Linked DNA regions of Homo sapiens: region 2 is linked to region 1. Evidence: promoter capture Hi-C in human tissues and cell types (Jung and others, 2019). All regions are on one chromosome and are shown on one strand. Each heading gives the region's core, a stretch centred on a gene start or on the middle of the fragment in contact. The rest is flanking DNA. Distances are from core to core; before and after follow the strand shown. Region 1 holds the start of PEX7 (peroxisomal biogenesis factor 7). Region 2 overlaps AHI1-DT (AHI1 divergent transcript).

The links. The method cuts DNA at HindIII sites, captures the fragments that hold promoters and counts their contacts. A contact is called where the count stands out against the background at its distance.
Region 2: a fragment that was not itself captured here is called in contact with the fragment with the promoter of PEX7 in region 1 in 1 of the 25 tissues and cell types used here (dorsolateral prefrontal cortex).

What each region holds. Positions count from the first base shown.
Region 1 is chr6:136,821,342-136,824,890 of GRCh38, forward strand. PEX7 (peroxisomal biogenesis factor 7) reads left to right here and starts at 1,251. Exons shown (of 10, transcript NM_000288.4): 1 at 1,251-1,454. The coding sequence starts at 1,325. RefSeq lists enhancers at 822-971, 855-1,587, 1,588-2,320, 1,702-1,861 and a silencer at 1,152-1,531. The HindIII fragment of the contact is 8,253 bases long and covers 1-3,549 here.
Region 2 is chr6:135,510,356-135,513,620 of GRCh38, forward strand. The region is part of intron 2 of AHI1-DT (AHI1 divergent transcript); the gene reads left to right. Among named protein-coding and RNA genes, the nearest start is that of AHI1-DT, 14 kb to the left of the region's middle. The HindIII fragment of the contact is 5,571 bases long and covers 1-3,265 here.

The DNA.
Region 1 (3,549 bases), core at 1-2,500:
TAAGACTCTTCATGATCTAGCCCCAGTAAAACACTCTACAGTCTCCCCACCCAATATTTTTTTCACCGTATCCCTTCCATCTGGCCAGGCTGAGTCCTGGCAGCCACGACCCCCTATGGATCATGCTGGTTTAAATCTCCTGGGTTGCTCATGTTATTCCTGCTCCTACAAAGATCTCCATCTTCTTGTCTACCTAAAGAAAACCTACTCATCTGTGTGCAATCACCATAAAGACTTATCTCTCTTCTGCAGCCTTTCCTGCAATTTCCATACCTCTGGCACGGACAATCACCTTTTAAAAATACCCCATATAAATTTATCATAGCCTCTACAGTATTTTGATTACACTTAACTAATTACATGACTTCTCTTTTAGTCTTCTTCTCTAATCTCTTGAGGCCATGGACCATATCCCATTATTTTGAATCCCAAATGCCTAGTACTGTTCTTGGTATATGGTTAAGATGATCATACGACTTGGTTTGTGCCTGTTGACCTGGCTTAATAATTACACCCTCTTTACTCTCAAAAGTATCTTGGTTTGGCAGATAAATTATATTTGGTCATTCTCCACATAGTATATGCCTGGCAATAAATGAATGAATGAGCACCAGCATCTGAGCACTTATTACCATACAATATATACATGTATAGTAATACTTTTTAAAAAAGTTGTATATGATGATGTGCTGCTTTTTTGCTTAGCTTCATTAGAACTGGCCAGCTCCTTTTTCTCACTTGCCAAGCATGGGGAGTTGGTTTGGAGTTGGTGTTTCATCTTTTCCAGTTACAGTGTGAAAGTAGCCCACCAGCCCACGCTCTTATTCCTAAAGACCGCAGTGACTCCACGGACTTAAGTTCTCATTGCTTCCAGTTTCCTTGGGCAACGCAGCACGCAATTTTGGACGCGCTGCGTGGTTTCAGAGTCGGCTGTAACTTTTCTCACTTTATAATCATCAGGAAAAGTTCCTGATGCCAGTCTTCCAAACGCTCAATGAAATAAAAACCAGATAGCACCGCAGAGGAGGCTGAGATGCAACGACAAAAGCTGTCGTAATTATTAATAATACCTAACCCTGGATCACTCCCCTGATAGATCTGTATCTTTGCAGCAGGCGCAATTCAGTTTGGATTCACCCAAAACAAAAATGGTCTCCGTCGGAGTCAACGCCCTTTCCTGTGCGGACCAATCAGAATCTCAAACACAGGGCACGGGGCCCACACTTCCGTCCGGTCTGCCTGGTCTCTCTAACCGCGCCAGTGTGCCTCCGACTCGGAACGGCTTCCGCGGCCGGGGCAGCGAGGGCCGGGGGCGGCGGGCGGGATGAGTGCGGTGTGCGGTGGAGCGGCGCGGATGCTGCGGACGCCGGGACGCCACGGCTACGCCGCCGAGTTCTCCCCGTACCTGCCGGGCCGCCTGGCCTGCGCCACCGCGCAGCACTACGGCATCGCGGGTGAGGCGGCGCCGCGCAGCTGGGGCCGGGGGGCGGAGGCGGAGGCGGGGGCCAGCCGGGCTCCAGTTCCTCGCGCTCGAGGGAAAGCCCCTCTGAGCGTAGACGGTTCCGCGGGTCCACGCCAGGGGGCAGAAGAGGCGCTGGTCGGCGCTTCTCCTTTCTTTGCCGAGTGCGAGGAGTTGGTCTGAAGCAGGAGTCGATCTTCCAGTTGTGTGCAAGTGCATATACGTGTAGCCTAGTAGCCCGTGTCCTTGTTCCTTGAGACCGCGCTGCCTCCGCCACGTGTCACACGCCCAGGCACACGTCCCCGTAGGGAGAGCCGGGGGAGCCTGCGCGGTCCCTTGGATCGGTCCGCTCGGCACAGCAGTACGGGGAAGACGGTCTGAGCCAGAACCGACCCAGGGCTCGCGAGTTGGCCCACAATTCCCAGTCTGCATTCGAGCACTGAGCTGCGACCTGCGGGCTGGCCTTCCTAAGGACGATGCTCCTGAATGGACGCCTGGAGTCCCACGGGTGACACCATGAAATATATCAAGTTCAGTTCTTACCTGTAGTTGTCTAACGAGGAATGCACACATTCGCAAGTAGGTGTTACAGACTCCAGTTAATTGTCTCCCGTCGCGCGCATTGGCTCAGCCTGTGGTTAAAGCTGCTCAGGAGGCTGAGGCGGGAGGATCGCTTGAGCCCGGGATGTTGAGGCTACAATGAGCTGAGATCACATCACTCTGCCCCAGCCCAGTGAGCTGAGATCACATCACTCCACTCCAGCCTGGGTGACAGACTGAGACCCCGTCTTAAAAAGAAAAAAGGCCAAGCGCCGTGCGGTGGCTCACGTCTGTAATCCCAGCACTTTGGGAGGCCGAGGTGGGCGGATCACTTGAGTTCGGGAGTTCCAGACCAGCCTGACCAACATGGAGAAACCCCATCTCTACTGAAAATACAAAATTAGCCGGGCGTGGTGGCGCATGCCTGTAATCCCAGCTACTCGGGAGGCTGAGGTAAGAGAATAGTTTGAACCCAGGAGGCAGAGGTTGCGGTGAGCCGAGATCGTGCCATTGCACTCCAGCCTGGGCAAGAAGAGCAAAACTCCGTCTCAAAAAAAAGAGTCCATCTAGTCCGTGGACTAGATGAAAAGGCGTAGGTTCATTCTCGCTTTTGCCTTAATTCATGTCCTAGCTATTATACGCACTGAAGCGAGATGCAAAAACTCATTTCATAATGTCAGTGGTCTATTGTATTTTTTTGTTTTGTCCTACAGCAGAAAAAAATGTTACTTCTAAAACTCAGAGAAATACTTGATTTATTTTCATTATTAGCTCTTAGTGCTTGCACATTCAGATTTACATGGCCCACCAGTTAGACTGAAGACTCATGAGTCTATAATGGTAGTAGTTTTCTTTTTTTCTTTTTTCTTTTTCTCTTTAGAGACAGGGTCTCACCCTGTTGCCTAGGTTGAGTAGAGTGGTGCAATCACAGCTCACCGTAGCCTCCACCTCCTGGGCTCATATGATCCTCCTGTCTCAACCTCACCAGTAGCTGGGACCACAGGCATGTACCATCACACCTGGCTAATTTTTGATTTTTTATTTTTGTAGAGACAGGGTATCACTATGTTGCCCAGGCTGGTCCGGAACTGGGTGCAAGCGATCTTCCTGCCTTGGCCTCCCAAAGTGCTGGGATTACAGGCGTGAGCCACTGTGACTGGCCTGTAATGCTACTTAAAATCTTATGCAAAAACTCTTTAAAGGGAATTGGTATTTAAAAAAAAAAATTCAGTCATGTTTAAATAGAAGAGATTTTCCCCCTTGGTCTCTATAAAAAGTAAACATAACTTTTAAAATACAATGGCCCTTTGGTAAAATAATCTTTGACAGGTAACATATTAATACTGTTTTCAGCACTTTATTACCACCAGTTATGTAGTAAATCCCACCAAGTATCTCCGCATTCATATTTTGTTTTAAAATCCTGTGTGAGATGTGTTTTAGATTTACTGGTGAGGAGTGCAGTCCCTGGGGTCTGTAAGCCAGAGGTTTCTCATCTGTCAGTAGGAATGATAACACCAACTTGGAAGGTTTGTGTCTCTGGTGCCTTG
Region 2 (3,265 bases), core at 324-2,823, 1.3 Mb before region 1:
GGTTGCGAAAATTTTCTCCCATTTCGTAGGTTGCCTGTTCACTCTGATGGTAGTTTCTTTTGCTGTGCAGAAGCTCTTTAGTTTAATTAGATCCCATTTGTCAATTTTGGCTTTTGTCGCCATTGCTTTTGGTGTTTTAGACATGAAGTCCTTGCCCATGCCTGTGTCCTGAATGGTAATGCCTAGGTTTTCTTCTAGGGTTTTTATGGTTTTAGGTCTAACATTTAAGTCTTTAATCCATCTTGAATTAATTTTTGTATAAGGTGTAAGGAAGGGATCCAGTTTCAGCTTTCTACATATGGCTAGCCAGTTTTCCCAGCACCATTGATTATATAGGGAATCCTTTCCTCATTGTTTGTTTTTCTCAGGTTTGTCAAAGATCAGATAGTTGTAAATATGCGGCATTATTTCAGAGGACTCTGTTCTGTTCCATTGATCTATATCTCTGTTTTGGTACCAGTACCATGCTGTTTGGTTACTGTAGCCTTGTAGTATAGTTTGAAGTCAGGTAGCGTGATGCCTCCAGCTTTGTTCTTTTGGCTTAGGATTGACTTGGTGATGCAGGCTCTTTTTTGGTTCCATATGTACTTTAAAGTAGTTTTTTTCCAATTCTGTGAAGAAAGTCATTGGTAGCTTGATGGGGATGGCATTGAATCTATAAATTACGTTGGGCAGTATGGCCATTTTCACGATATTGATTCTTCCTACCCATGAGCATGGAATGTTCTTCCATTTGTTTGTATCCTCTTTTATTTCCTTGAGCAGTGGTTTGTAGTTCTCCTTGAAGAGGTCCTTCACATCCCTTGTAAGTTGGATTCCTAGGTATTTTATTCTCTTTGAAGCAATTGTGAATGGGAGTTCACTCATGATTTGGCTCTCTGTTTGTCTGTTATTGGTGTATAAGAATGCTTGTGATTTTTGTATATTGATTTTGTATCCTGAGACTTTGCTGAAGTTGCTTATCAGCTTAAGGAGATTTTGGGCTGAGACAATGGGGTTTTCTAGATATACAATCATGTCGTCTGCAAACAGGGACAATTTGACTTCCTCTTTTCCTAATTGAATACCCTTTATTTCCTTCTCCTGCCTAATTGCCCTGGCCAGAACTTCCAACAGTATGTTGAATAGGAGTGGTGAGAGAGGGCATCCCTGTCTTGTGCCAGTTTTCAAAGGGAATGCTTCCAGTTTTTGCCCATTCAGTATGATATTGGCTGTGGGTCTGTCATAGATAGCTCTTATTATTTTGAGATACGTCCCATCAATACCTAATTTATTGAGAGTTTTTAACAATCCGAGTCTCTGATAAAACAGACTTTAAACCAACAAAGATCAAAAGAGACAAAGAAGGCCATTACATAATGGTAAAGGGATCAATTCAACAAGAAGAGCTAACTCTCCTAAATATATATGCACCCAATACAGAAGCACCCAGATTCATAAAGCAAGTCCTGAGTGACCTGCAAAGAGACTTAGACTCCCACACAATAATAGTGGGAGACTTTAACACCCCACTGTCAACATTAGACAGATCAACGAGACAGAAAGTTAACAAGGATTCCCAGGAATTGAACTCAGCTCTGCACCAAGCGGACCTAATAGACATCTACAGAACTCTCCACCCCGAATCAACAGAATATGCATTTTTTTCAGCACCACACCACACCTATTCCAAACTTGACCACATAGTTGGAAGTAAAGCTCTCCTCAGCAAATGTAAAAGAACAGAAATTATAACAAACTGTCTCTCAGACCACAGTGCAATCAAACTAGAACTCAGGATTAAGAAACTCACTCCAAACTGCTCAACTACATGTAAACTGAACAACCTGCTCCTGAATGACTACTGGGTACATAACGAAATGAAGGCGGAAATAAAGATGCCTTTTGAAACCAACGAGAACAAAAACACAACATACCAGAATCTTTGGGACACATTCAAAGCAGTGTGTAGAGGGAAATTTACAGCACTTAATGCCCACAAGAGAAAGCAGGAAAGATCCAAAATTGACACCCTAACATCACAATTAAAAGAACTAGAAAGCAAGAGCAAACACATTCAAAAGCTAGCAGAAGGCAAGAAATAACTAAAATCAGAGCAGAACTGAAGGAAATAGCAGCAAAAAAAAAAACCCTTCAAAAAATTAATGAATTCAGGAGCTGGTTTTTCGAAAGGATCAACAAAATTGATAGACCGCTAGCAAGACTAATAAAGAAAAAAAGAGAGAAGAATCAAATAGATGCAATAAAAAATGATAAAGGGGATATCACCACCGATCCCACAGAAATACAAACTATCATCAGAGAATACTACAAACACCTCTATGCAAATAAACTAGAAAATCTAGAAGAAATGGATAAAGTCCTCCACACATACACTCTCCCAAGACTAAACCAGGAAGAAGTTGAATCTCTGAATAGACCAATAACAGGCTCTGAAATTGTGGCAATAATCAATAGCTTACCAACCAAAAGGAGTCCAGGACCAGATGGATTCACAGCCGAATTCTACCAGAGGTACAAGGAGGAACTGGTACCATTCCTTCTGAAACTATTCCAATCAATAGAAAAAGAGGGAATCCTCCCTAACTCATTTTATGAGGCCAGCATCATCCTGATACCAAAGCCGGGCAGAGACACGACCAAAAAAGAGAATTTTAGACCAATATCCTTGAAGGACATTGATGCAAAAATCCTCAATAAAATACTGGCAAACGCAATCCAGCAGCACATCGAAAAGCTTATCCACCATGATCAAGTGGGCTTCATCCCTGGGATGCAAGGCTGGTTCAATATATGAAAATCAATAAATGTAATCCAGCATATAAACAGAACCAAAGACAAAAACCACATGATTATCTCAATAGATGCAGAAAAGGCCTTTGACAAAATTCTAAATTATTATTAAAGCAGGCTTTATCTCTATAAACTTCTCTCCTAAAACTAATTTTGCAGCATCTCATAAGTTTTGGTATGCTGTGTTTTCATTTTCATTTGTCTCAAGTTTTTAAAATTTCTTTTTTGATGTCTTCTTTGACCTATTGGTTGTTCAAGGGTTTGTTGTTAACCTAAATGTCTACTGACAGATGAATGGATAAAGAAAATGTGGTCTATACATACGATGGAATATTACTCAGCCTTAAAAAAGAAGGAAATCCTGCCATTTGTGACAACATGGATAGACCTAGAGGGCATTATGCTGTGAAATAAGCCAGACACAGAAAGACAAATATGATCTCATTTATGTATGGAATTTAAAATAGTCAAA